Regions from separate parts of the Homo sapiens genome. Here all the other regions are linked to region 2. The links are contacts of gene promoters, found by promoter capture Hi-C in blood cells and fetal thymus (Javierre and others, 2016). All regions are on one chromosome and are shown on one strand. Each heading gives the region's core, a stretch centred on a gene start or on the middle of the fragment in contact. The rest is flanking DNA. Distances are from core to core; before and after follow the strand shown. Region 1 holds the start of PHF11 (PHD finger protein 11). Region 2 holds the start of VPS36 (vacuolar protein sorting 36 homolog). Region 3 holds the start of KPNA3 (karyopherin subunit alpha 3).

Region 1 (4,213 bases), core at 1,337-3,836, 3.0 Mb after region 2:
TGTCAGAATGATCTAACGGAAATGTACTAGGTTACAGTCAGAATGATCTATCTGAAATGTACTAGGTTACTGTCAGAATGATCTACTGGAAATGTACTAGGTTACTGTCAGAATGATCTACCGGAAATGTACTAGGTTACTGTCAGAATGATTTACCAGAAATGTGCTAGGTTACTGTCAGAATGATCTACCGGAAATGTACTATGTTACTGTCAGAATGATCTACCTGAAATGGACATCTGCTCATATTTCCCCATCACCTACAGAAGTCAAGCTCCGTAGTGTTATATACAAGTACATTCATTCCTTCAACAAATATTTAATGAGGACTTACTATTATTTAATATTTAATGAGTACCTACTATGTCCTACTACTACTACTAGGCCAACCAGTCTAGGCACTAAGGATAGAAGAGAGTAAGACGAATTTACATGCCAGTGGCCAGTGGTAGAGACAGGCATTAAACAAGTTTTGTTTTGTTTTCCAGGTAGTGATAAGTACTATAGAGAAAGAATAGAGCAGAAGGAGGTAGAGAGTGACAGGAGCAGGGGCAAGGGGTGCTCTTTTAGACAGGATGGGCAGGCAAGGTTGAGGGAAGATGTATATGAGCAGACACCTGAATATGATGGGGAACTGAAAATGGGATAATGTGGCAATGAGTTTTCCTTGCAGAGAATAGCAAATGGAAAGATCCTGAGGCAGGGACAGCTTTGGTGGCTTAGAGGACCTACAAGGTAGCAGGGTAGCAGAGTCATTAAGATGGGCAGGAGTCAAATCAGATAAGGACATGGGGTAAACTGCAGGCCAGGCTCATAGATTGTTCTGAGAGTCATGGGAGACTATTGGTGGGTTTTGAGTAGGAGAATCACATTTGCTTTTTGTTTTTCAAAAAGCATTTTGGCCGCTCTGCAGGCCTGCCTGTATTAAAGGCTAGAATAGAAGCCAGGAAAGCAATAGTCCAGACAGAAGATCATGATGGCGTAGGCTTGGGTGGCAGTAATGGAAGTGGTGAGAAGCAGTCAGGCTCCAGATACAGTCAGGCTGAACACAGAACTGGCTGGCCCGACTGATGCATTAGAAGGGGTGTCCGGAGGAAAGAGAGGCCCTGAGGAGCCACTAAGGTTTTTGCAAGGAGCACCTGGGCGAATGGAATGGGCTGGTGGTTGAGCAGGTTTGGAGTACCTGAATACAGTGGAGGAAACAAGAATTCTCTTTGGGACATACTCAGTTTGAGATCATTTCAGAAATGGAAGAAGTTGGTTATACCAGTCTGGAGTTTGAGGAAGAGGTCAGGATGGAAGCGCATCTCCCGTGACTTACCTTACAGTCCATATGTATACCAATGAATGAAATATCCAACTGATTGGCTTGTGGTTGCCACGTATGATGTTTACGTGTGACGTTTTGTGGTTTGGTGCCTTTGTGTCATCCTCTCTGCTGGGAACACCCCTTCAACTTTTCCACCTTTGGCTGAGTCTTGCCCTTTAAAGGTAAGCCCATGAAACATGGAGAAACCCTCTCTACTAAAAATACAAAATTAGCTGGGCGTGGTGGCACATGCCTGTAATCCCATCCACTCGGGAGGCTGAGGCAGGAGAATCGCTTGAACCCGGGAGGCAGAGGTTGCAGTGGGCCGAGATAGCGCCTTTGCACTCCAGCCTGGGCAACAAGAGTGAAACTCCTCTCAAAAAAAAAAAAAAAAAAAAAGGGTAAGCCCAGCCATCCTCTCCTCAAAAAGCTTTCCCTGAAGACTGGGAGTCAGGAGTCTCTCATCTGTACCTCTGTGGTTCTGACCTCCTCATTAAAGTTGCCTAGTAGAGTCTCTAGGGCAGGGTCTGCCTAACTCATCTTTGTATGCTCAGGACCTTGCCCTGAGCCTGGCACACCGTTTGGAGCTATACACACACGCAAGGGCAGGAACCCATCAGAAGACCCACCCACTCAAGTAGAGGGCCGGGGAGGACTGGAACGACTGGAGAAGGGGAGACGGGTTCCAGTCACGTCCTCCGTGAACGTGAGACCCAGCTCTTCCCTCAGGGCCGCCCCCTGCCTCACCGCATCAGGGCGCCCCTCCACTGTCCTGGTTTACCGGTGAGCGGAGGGGCGCTAGGAGAGTTGACATCGGTTGTGGTGGAAGCACTGGGCTGTCACCCGCGGGGGAGGTAAACCGAAGCGTGCCCACCACTCGCGCGAAACCATGGGCAGTCAGAGCCACCTGTGGAACTGGCCTGGGCCGCGCCCTGTCCTCTGGCCCCCTCCCCCACCAACAGGCACGCGAGTGGTGAGCCAAGTTCGTCCAGCGCCGCCCCGGCGTCTAGGGCCCCGGCCCGGAGTAGGGGCAGGTCGGGCCCCCATGCGGCCACGACCGGAAGGCAGGCCCCTTGACCGGGCCCGTCGCTGCCCAGCCCCGCCCGCCCGCCCGCCCGCCCCCGCGGTACACACCGGTGGGAAGGAGGAGCGCCTCCTGCGCGGGCCGGGCCTCCGGGCTGCTGGCGCCGAGCACCCTCTCGGGCCGGGGCGGCGACGCCTGGGCCATGACTGTGCTGCAGCTGCGGGTGGCGGCCGGATAGCGAGATCCCGGAAGTGCCCCAGCTGCACTAGGTTTCGTTTTCTTAAATCTGGGCTGTCGCTTTGAGTCACTAGCCGGCCCGGGGAAAGTTGGGTGTGCAGAGAGGGGTTGTCACACACACTGCTCCAGATTCCAGTCTAGTCTTAATTTGAATAGCTTAAAAAACCCAAACGCCGGGAGCAGTGGCTCACGCCTGTAATCCCAGCACTTTGGGAGGCCGAGGAGGGCGGATCACGAGGTCAGGAGTTCAACACCAGCCTAACCAACATGGTGAAACCCCGTCTCTACTAAAAATACAAAAATTAGCTGGGCATGGTGGCGGGTGCCTGTAATCCCAGCTACTCCAGACACTGAGGCATGAGAATCGCTTGAATCGGGAGGCGGGGCTTGCAGTGAGCCGAGATCGCGCCACTACACTCCAGCCTGGGCTACAGAGCGGGACTCCGTCTCAAAACAAACAAACAAACAAACACACACAAAAAACAAACAAACAAAAAAACCCCAAACGCCAGGCTTCCCTACTCCACCCCCCACAACACAGCGGGAGAAACAATCACTCTCCTGAGGGTTCCTCCTAAAAACTATCATACTGGCCGGGTGGGCGCGGTGGCTCACGCCTGTAGTTCCAGGACTTTGGGAGGCCGAGGTGGGCGAATCACGAGGTCAGGAGTTCGAGACCAGCCTGGTCAACATGGTGAAACCCCGTCTCTACTAAAAATACAAAAATTAGCCGGGCTTGGTGGCGGGCGCCTGTAATCCCAGCTACTCGGGAGTCTGAGGCAGGAGAATCGCTTGAACCCGGGAGGCGGGGGTTGCAGTGAGCCAAGATCGCGCCACTGCACTCCTGCCTAGGCGACAGAGCCAGACTCCCTCTCAAAAAAAAAAAAAAAAAAAAAAAAATTATCATACCGAGTTTGGCTTAAATAAGCATATCTTAAAAGGACGCAGAATTAGCCGATCCTAAATCCAGTTGCCAGTAGCAAGCCTTTATTTAGCACCCATAGGGTACAGAGCACCATACAAGATGAGGTTTTCAGTGAATCTAACATAAATGCATATAATTATAGTTAAAAAATAAGTTGTTCTGGAAAAAAGACATATAATAGTTGGTGGTTTGCTGAGGAATTAAAGGAAAACTGGAGGTCTTCCACTTTCAGCAGGTTGTAAAGAGGAAGACTGCCAACTAGGGATAGCAGAAGAGAGAACATTAAAAAGGACAATTTGTATAGTCTTGACAACTATGAAATGAATTGCAGAAGAGTGTGGGGTCTGCAAAACAGGGAAGTGAGCAGACAGACCCTAGCAGCCAATTTTTAAATTTTTTTTTGCCCTCCATGCAGGAGGATGAAAGAGTATTTCTTGCCAGGCCAAAATGAAAGGCCCTTTATAAAGAGACTGACATTAGGGTGTTCCCCAGCAAGATAGCTCAGGTAGGTCATAGTAAAACAAAGAGCCCTTTACCACACTCTCAGCTTATAGTAAGCTTTTTGGTGTTCCACACTTAAATATGAGTAGACTACCAAGACCATTAACTCTGAGGAAAGCCTATAATGTGAACGACCAAAACAAACATACAGGGGAAACAAAGAAACAAACCCTGGAGGACACAGATTATGCCGAAAGAATACAGAGATGCATGCCTG
Region 2 (4,132 bases), core at 1,581-4,080:
GTGCCTGTGAGAGAACAGGGAAGGACAATCTGAAAGTTAGGAGGACAATGGGGACACAATGGGGTCACAAAGTCTGGGGAAGAGAGAAGCTGAAGAAAGAGGTAATGGACCACAGTGTTGGGCACTACAGAGGTCCAGTAGGATTGGGACTGAAAGGAACCATCTGATTCAGAAGGTGGGAGGTCCTGGCAAAAACATCCTGGGGATGGCTGGGCGTGGTGGCTCATGCCCGTAATCCCAGCACTTTGGGAGGCCAAGGCGGGTGGATCACCTGAGGTCAGGAGTTCAAGACCAGCTTTGCCAACATGGTGAAACCCTGTCTCTACAAAATATACAAAAGTTAGCCAGGCGTGGTGGCAGGCACCTGTAATCCCAGCTACTCGGGAGGCTGAGGCAGGAGAATCGCTTGAACCCAGGAGTCAGTGGTTGCAGTGAGCCGAGATTGTGCCATTGCACTCCAGCCTGGGCGGCAGAGTGAGACTCTGTCTCAAAAAAAAAAAGCATAGACCTAAATGTAAGAACCAAAACTATGAAGCTTCTAGAAGAAATTATAGGAGAAAATCTTAGTGACTTTGTGTTAGGCAAAGATTTCATAATCAGTATCAATATCTGGTTTGTGGAAAAAAGATTTCTTAAATAGGCAAATTCCATGAACTATGAAAGAAAAAAATACACTGAACTTCATAAAAATTAAAACCTTTTGTCTATTCATTTATTGCCATATATAAGCCACATGACGTTTCTCCTTGCTCCAGCCTGGATACAGGAAACCCTTATACGGTTGTCTATCCCAGCAGCTATCATATGCCAGGCTTCTATTTGTGTCCTACAGACTGTACATCCCTCAAGGGCAGAAAACATACCTTGCAAATGTCCTCACTGCCTAACATGTTGATAATTGCAAAGCCCAGGCATAACTGCACAGTTCCACATCTGATTAGGATGCTTAGGTCACATTACTTTCAATTAAAAAAGACTAAAAAGTTGGTAAACAATCAAATGCTCAAAAATCAGGCAATGATGGTAAATTGTGATATATATTGATAGCATATTACAGCAAATCAAATGTTTTCAAAGAACTTTTGGTTATTGGGTATATGGTCATGATGGAAATTGAAAGATATGAAATACAGAAGACACTGTTTAGAAATAGACCAAAATACACACAGGATTTTGGAACACGGTAAAAGTAGCAATTCATTTCGGGGGAGAGATGGCTTATACTCATTGGAAAGAGCCTTTCCTTTCTTTTAATGCCTAGCCACAGACCACTGACTCCACGACTGGGGGAAATGTGGAGCCCTGGGGGCAGAGAGCAAGCCTGCCCTCTGTCCCTCTGCCCCTGTGCCCCTCTGCCCACGTGGGCACGCAGCCTTAGTTAAGACCCCAATAAGTGGTAGGCTCTCTAAAATGTGTTCACAACCTTTAAAGCAGTCATTCTATTTTAGGAAGACACTGTAAGAAAATAATCCTAAAGAGAAAAATATGTATCAATTGTAGAAGGACATCTATAAGCTGCTCCATTTATTTATTTATTTATTATTTATTATTATTATTTTTGAAGCAGAGTCTCGTTCTGTCGCTCAGACTGGAGTGCAATGGTGCGATCTCGGCTCACTGCAACCTCTACCTCCAGGGTTCAAGCGATTCTCTTGCCTCAGCTTCCCGAGTAGCTGGGATTACAGGCACCCGCCACCACGCCGGGCTAATTTTTTGTATTTTTAGTAGAGACAGGGTTTCTCTATGTTAGCCAGGCTGGTCTCGAACTCCTGACTTGTGATCCGCCCGCCTTGTCCTCCCAAAGTGCTGGGATTACAAACGTGAGCCACCGCGCCCGGCCAGGTGTTCCATTTATAAAGCAAAATACAAAAATGAAATGGCTAGGGGCACGAGGCCGCCTGGTGGGTGAGAGCAGCGGCCATGGATGGCTTTGCGCAGACCAACAAACAGCTAAATTATAGAGGAACTACATATTGAAATGTAAATTCACGCATGAGGTCTGTATTAATATTGAAAATGCCTAAATAAAAATAATCTTTTTTTTCTGAGCCTGGGGGTGGGGGAGTGGAGTGGCGTGGGGGAGTTGGGGTGGAGGGGGAAAGGGTCTTTCTATGTCGCCCACTGGTGTCAAACTCCTGGGTTCAAGCAATCCTCCCGCCTCAGCTTCGGAAGCAGCTGGGAATACAGGCGCGCGCATCAAGCCCGGTTAAATAAAATCTGTTTCCCCCAGTTAAAAAAAAATTAATTTGTGTGGGTACATAGGTGTATATATTTCTGGGGTATATGGGATATTTTGATACAGGCATACACTGTATAATAATCACATCAGGGTAAATGAGGTATCCGTTACCTCAAGCATTTATCCTTTGTGTTACAATATAATCTTAAAGGGAAAAAAAGAGCAGCACAGGTAGTACTGACTGCAGCTGTACAGAAACAATGCGTGCCATAAATATTCATTTGAAAGAGAGGGGTTATGATTATTTACAATCATTAGCGAATGTAGCAACATTCTGGGCACTGACAAGAAAACTGCCACAAACATGCAGGCATAATGCACAATAAGCAAGTCCAAGCTGTGGTCGGGGCTCCCTCGCGTCCCTGTAAGCTCTGAATTTAGAATGGGGTGGACCGCCTGCTGATCAAGGGTTCTGAAAGGCCGGCGGCTAATGGACCGCCAGGGGGCGCTCCACGCACGTCTCCACGTCCCCGGGCGCACCTCGCAGCCGCGCCCGCTCGCTGCCAGGCCGCTCCCTCCGTCCCTCACCCGCCCCGACTCGCTTCCGTCCCGTCCGACGCTAGGGGGCGCCGCAGGCTGCCTGGCGCGCTGCTCGCGGCCTCGGAGGGCCGGGGCTGGGTGGCAGCGGCCATGGACCGCTTCGTTTGGACCAGCGGCCTCCTGGAGATCAACGAGACCCTGGTGATCCAGCAGCGCGGGGTGCGAATCTACGATGGCGAGGAGAAGGTAGGGCGTCTGCCAACCTTCCCAACGGGCTGGCGGAAGGGACCCCCGGTGGGCGCGCGGCCCGGCTCAGCGCGGCCCGGGTCGGCGCGGCCCGGTCCCCGGCTTAGCTCACGGCCCTCGGCGGCCCGGCAGGCCTCTGTGCGGGGTGCAGCGCTCTTGCGCTCCCCGCCGGTCGGTAGCACGTGGCGTGGGGCGCTCGGCTGCCTCCCCAGCGCGGGTCCCAACTTTGGCACGGTTCCCAGCAGGCGCGGATCGCGGCCGCTTCCCTCCGCCCGGAATGCTTCCGGGAGCGCACAGCTGCAGTGCCCGGGAGAAGGAGCGCTCGCCGTCTGCGGGCGCCGGGCGGCGATCCGGCAGTCGACTTCCTTGGCGTGGTTCCAGACCCCCTGACGACACCAACCTCGGCGTCGGCACCGGACAGCCCCGTTTCGCCTTTCTGTGAGGAGGGCGCGGTGGCCGTACAGTCCGTGCCCCAGCGGAAGCTTTAGCTTGGACCTTATGCAGTCGGAGGGATTAGCATATCTGGGCAGAGGGGTGAGGGATTGCTTCGAAAGGATTTCCTAAAGAGGTATCAGTGCTTCATTGGAATGCCCTTGCCAAAGGCTATTGGGTTTTTGTTTTGTTTTCTAATTGCTTTAGAAAGGCGTTCTGAGCGTGTTTTGTAAAGTGTTATATTAATAGTAGACCGTGCCTTGTAGTGCAAGCATAAATCTTAGAAGGTGCGTTTGCAAATCGAGAGGAGAAATAGGAAGTGTAAGTAAATATTTTGTAGATACTTTACTGAAACTATGAAATATCTTGTCCTGGATTGAAATGGATAAACTGGAATTAGAAAAATTTTAAAACTCATTTACCCACAAGCATTTTTGGTTTCCAGAAGTTTTAATTTGCTACCTCTCTTCCCTTGCCGTTTTATTAACGACACTTTCCGCTGTACTTTGATATAAGTTCCTCAACTCAGCTTTTCCTGGTAAGTGCTTACAGCTATTTAGAGGCACAGGTGACATTGGACCCAGGTCCTCTGACTCTCTTAGGGCATTTTCTATGGGCTGTGTTGCCTGTATTAGTGAGTAAAGGTCTTTTCCTTAAATAATTTGCTTGGACCTAACTTCACTTACTGCCTTAGCACTTCTTAATTTAATTAATTAATTTATTTATTTTGAGACA
Region 3 (4,536 bases), core at 1,575-4,074, 2.7 Mb after region 2:
AGAATAAAAATGAGTAAACTAGATCCAGGCAAAAGGGCAGCCCTGCTTTGGACTGGGTGTGAAGAAAGGTGGCATAAAGTAACCTGAAAAGGGAATACCTACTAAATTATAATAGAGACTGAGCAACAGTCTGAAAATTTCTCTTCCATTTAGCCAAGGAGAATGGCAAACACACAAGTTCTGTTTCCTTAAAACCCAGAGTTGAGCTAATGTATTCTTTCTTTTTTCTTTTTTTTGAGACAGAGTCTCATTCTGTTACCCAGGCTGGAGTGCAGTGGCGCAATCTCAACTCACTGCAACCTCCGCCTCCCAGGTTCAAGCGATTCTCCTGCCTCAGCTTCCTGAGCACCTGTGACTACAGGCATGCACCACCATGCCTGCCTAATTTTTGTATTTTTGTAGAGAAAGGGTTTCACTATGTGGGCCATGGTTGGCCAGACTGGTCTCAAACTCCTGACCTCAGGTGATCCTCCCACCTCAGCCTCCCAAAGTGCTGGGATTACAGGCATGAGCCACTGTGCCCTGCCTAATGTATTCCTTCTAAATTCATAGCTGGTGTGTGTGTGTGTGTTTCCCTTCAAATGAGTGGTTAGACTAAGATCAGGTGTTGCAAACTGAGGACCTGATATTCTGAAGTGACTGAAATGCTTAAGTCCATTAACAAAATGTGAATTAACATTTAAAAATAAAGAGAAAAAGAATCTACCTTTTTGGTTTTCCTTGAAAAGTGGAATCTTCTGGCAACACTGGGCCACAGTCCAGTATGACCAGAGGATCTGAAGCCTGTGTTTATCAATAGGCCACACCCCACCACTCACAAGACGAATGCCCCTGGACATAGCTTGGCCACCAAAGGCTTCTGAATTCCTGACTTCTGGGCCTCAGGTTCTTTAAGGCCCTTTCGCTTTTTTTTTTTTTTTTTTTTCTGTATCTCCTCATATATTTATTCTTTTTCTGTGATCAGTGTCCTTTGCATGTTTTTGTTGGGTTGTTTGAATTTTTTATTTTTATTTTTTGGGGATGGAGTCTCACTCTGTCGCCTAGGCTGGAGTGCAGTGACACGATCTCAGCTCACTGCAACCTCCGCCTCCCAGGTTCAAGCAATTCTCCTGCCTCAGGCTCCCAAGTAGCTGAGATTACAGGTATGCGCCATATGCCCGTCTAATTTTTGTATTTTTTTTAGTAGAGGTGGGGTTTCACCATGTTGGCCAGGCTGGTCTCGACCTCCTGACCTTGTGATCCACCCACCTCGACCTCCCAAAGTGCTGGGATTACAGGCATGAGCCACCGCGCCCAGCCAAGGCCCTTTCGCTTTAAAGATTGTCCTTTTTGATCTCTTCATGGTATAGTCCTACCAACTTTTGACCTCAGTTCAATTATAAGTACTACAACATTACATACCTGCTCATGTCTACCATAGATTCTGAAAATTAACATACAAGCAAATGAAGCCCACCTGCTCCAGAAAGTAGCTTTTTGTTTTTGTTGTTGTTGTTTTTGTTGTTTTGTTTGAGACAGAGTCTCCCTCTGTCGCCAGGCTGGAGTGCAGTGGCGCCATCTCGGCTCGCTGCAACCTCCGCCTACCGGGTTCAAGCGATTCTCCTGCCTCAGCCTCCAGGCATGCGCCACCACGCCCAGCTAATTTTTGTATATTTAGTAAAGAAGGGGTTTCACCATGCGGGCCATGGTTGGCCAGACTGGTCTCGGTCTCTTGACCTTGTGATCTGCCCTCCTCGGCCTCCCAAAGTGCTGGGATTACAGGCGTGAGCCACCACACCCGGCCGAAAGCAGCTCTTTATCAGTGTAATCCATCCAAATTTCCCTCTTTCATTCTTTCGATGCCCCCAGAGGGAGTGGGAGTGCTACACAGGAGAGTCTGCGGACCAGGGCTGGGCTGCTGCCTGAAGGCTAAGATTCTGTGTGGTGGTAGAACAAGAAGTGTTGGGGGGCATGTAAATACAGGGACTGCCAGAGTGAAGGTTGCAGAACCGGGCTTGGAAGGATGATGAAGAAACTGGGCGACACTAAAGCGCCAGTTCAACAAGTATTGCGTATCTACGACGTGGTAGGCATTGTTTTGACACTAGAGATTCAGCAGTAATTCAACCAAAGTACCTGCTCTCATTGAGCTGAATTTCCGCGCGGGCACCTAGGTAACGCATATAAACACTCGTATCACATACATACACATGTACATGTCAGGTAGAAATGCTATTTATAAAACTGAAGCAGAGCATGGGAAGAGCGAATGAAGGTGGCTATTTGAGAAGACCCCCAAAAAAGCGAGACTGCAAAGCACTCGCGGTTGTTCCTTTTCTGATCTTCTAGCTACAGGCAGCGAGGTGCGCTCCCAGGAAGGCCCGCCCTCTTCCTCCTGATAGGGCGCAAGGTGCCAGGGACGCTCCCCCGCTCTTCCCCGCCCAGAGGCGGCCTTGTGGGGGCGGAGCTTTGTGCCCAGCAACATGAGCGCGGCGCGCAAAGAGCCGCGCGCGGAAGGGTCCCGGCATTCTCCTCGTTCTCACTAGGCGTGGAGAATTACTCCAGGCGGATCGTGGCATGATGGGAACTGTAGTTGACGACCGCCGCCCCGCGCCTGAGGGGCAGTAAAAGTCGCCAGGTCCGGCTCCATTTCTGGCACAAAACTTGCAGCACCGAGGGGTTGTGGAGAGCCCTTGCAGGGGAAGAGGGCAGGGTCATCCCGAGAACCAACGGGCACGTATAGCCCGGCGAACGCCCAAGCCGGTCACCGCCCCCGGTCACGTGTCGCCAGCCTCCGCGGCCGCGCGCCGCTCTCAGCACCGTTCCCGCCCCACCCGGCCCGGCAGTCGGCCCGCGCCTCCCCCGGCGCTACTGCCACCTCGCGCTCGGAGGCGTCACAGAACGTGCTCTTCTCTCCCCTCCCCCCTCCCGCTCTCCCCCTCCTCCCCCTCCCGCTCCAAGATTCGCCGCCGCCGCCGCCGCAGCCGCAGGAGTAGCCGCCGCCGGAGCCGCGCGCAGCCATGGCCGAGAACCCCAGCTTGGAGAACCACCGCATCAAGAGCTTCAAGAACAAGGGCCGCGATGTGGAAGTGAGTGTGCTTCCGCGGTCTGGGCCCGCCTGGCCGCGCCGGCCCGGCGACGCGGGGAGGGGCGGGGGGCCGGCGCCGGGCTGGTTCTCGTCGGCTTGTGGTCGGCCGGAGTTGGCCGCCGCCTCCCGTCACCGCGGCCCCGGGCTGGGCGGAGCGGGCGGCGAGACGCCGGCCGGGCTGCAGTCACCCCCCGGAGCTGCCGGCGCGGCGACCGGGAAATGCCGGCGTTTTCGGCCCCGTCACGCGGGCGCGGCCTGGTGTCGGCGAGGAGGGGATGTGGAGCTGAGGCGGGGTCCGCGGGCCAGGGCCGCCCGGATGAACGGGGATGCTGCCGCCCGGGCCCTCCGACCGCACAGCCGAGGGGGCGGCCGCTGCTTGCGCCCGCCACCGGTGCAACCTTCCGTCCGGTGCAGCCCCCTCTGCGCCTCCCGCGCGGCTCACATGGAGCCTCGGCTCTGCCGGTCCGGGCTCCTACCTTCTGCGAGCCGGGCCCAGGCGGGCGGTGGCGGCCCGCAGAGGGGGGTGGGGACCAGCCGGGTAACTGACTTGTTTGAGGGTGATCGATGGGGGAGGGTAGGATGCGCCAGGACCATTTTCTTATATTCCAGTGCTCGTCTTTGGACTAGTCGTGCCGAGCTGTTGCAGCTCATACTCCTGCAACTGCTGGCATTTGGAGCGAGCTGAAGGTGGACAATAGTTTGCCATCTATTGTGTTCAGGCTTCGGAAAAGAGGTTGCTCCGACCTCCGCTCATAGGACTTGTTTTCTTAGCCTTTCTTGGAGTGGGGTGTGCATAGGGTGATAATTTCTTTGACACGTTTTACTAAAATAAATTGGATACACAGGTTCATAATTCTCTTACATACCTCTTGCTCCAAGCTAGTAGAATTTCCAAGTGGTTGCAAAACTAAACATTCATCGCGGTCACTCAGTTAGTTGCTACTCAGCATGTTGCCATTGTCTCATTAAGGTGACATTAGCAGGTACTATTTGCAAACTCGGCTTATTGAGGCAGCGCTAGAGGTCTCTCTGCAGCTACTGAAAACAGTAAGTATAATGCACAAACTTCACTGGGACCGTGACCTTTGGATTTGTTAGGGGGAAAATGGTTTTAAGGCCGCAGCCTTCTTTGCTAATACTAGGCGACATGATTTGCAGTTTTGTAATTTTTGATAAGCTAGTGTGATTAAGAGGTGTGTTTTATCCTGTCTTAAGGAAGGTTGTGGGGTAAATATACCATTCAGTGTTCTATTTTGTAGAGAAACAGACAAACTCAGGCCGTTTTTCAGAGCTACAAAATTAAATACTAGTAGGAAAGAACCTAGGGAGATATCCGTGGAATTCCCATTTAAATGAGTCAAATAAAGATCATATATTCTTTCCTGGTCATGGTTAAATACCCTTTGTAAGAAATACATCTAAGCGAAAGTAAAACTTGGGAATAGGAACAAGAAATTTTGGAACTGCCT

What was found. The method cuts DNA at HindIII sites, captures the fragments that hold promoters and counts their contacts. A CHiCAGO score of 5 or more calls a contact.
Region 1: a contact is called between the fragment with the promoter of PHF11 here and the fragment with the promoter of VPS36 in region 2, in 1 of 17 cell types (fetal thymus). The highest score is 10.0, in fetal thymus.
Region 3: a contact is called between the fragment with the promoter of KPNA3 here and the fragment with the promoter of VPS36 in region 2, in 2 of 17 cell types (neutrophils and fetal thymus). The highest score is 6.6, in neutrophils.

The regions. Positions count from the first base shown.
Region 1 is chr13:49,494,326-49,498,538 of GRCh38, reverse strand. PHF11 (PHD finger protein 11) reads right to left here and starts at 2,586. Exons shown (of 10, transcript NM_001040443.3): 1 at 2,444-2,586. The coding sequence starts at 2,537. All of the region lies in intron 12 of SETDB2-PHF11 (SETDB2-PHF11 readthrough), which reads right to left. It overlaps SETDB2 (SET domain bifurcated histone lysine methyltransferase 2), which reads right to left. Exons shown (of 14, transcript NM_001160308.3): 14 at 3,536-4,213. RefSeq lists enhancers at 2,005-2,054, 2,545-2,784, 3,095-3,780 and a silencer at 2,245-2,524. The HindIII fragment of the contact is 2,314 bases long and covers 1,742-4,055 here.
Region 2 is chr13:52,449,332-52,453,463 of GRCh38, reverse strand. VPS36 (vacuolar protein sorting 36 homolog) reads left to right here and starts at 2,830. Exons shown (of 14, transcript NM_016075.4): 1 at 2,830-2,965. The coding sequence starts at 2,870. RefSeq lists silencers at 2,584-2,643, 2,684-3,143 and an enhancer at 2,664-3,244. The HindIII fragment of the contact is 2,912 bases long and covers 538-3,449 here.
Region 3 is chr13:49,790,970-49,795,505 of GRCh38, reverse strand. KPNA3 (karyopherin subunit alpha 3) reads left to right here and starts at 2,824. Exons shown (of 17, transcript NM_002267.4): 1 at 2,824-3,068. The coding sequence starts at 3,000. RefSeq lists enhancers at 2,529-2,658, 2,462-3,123, 3,124-3,785, 3,790-4,309 and silencers at 2,729-2,978, 3,099-3,668. The HindIII fragment of the contact is 6,989 bases long and covers 1-4,536 here.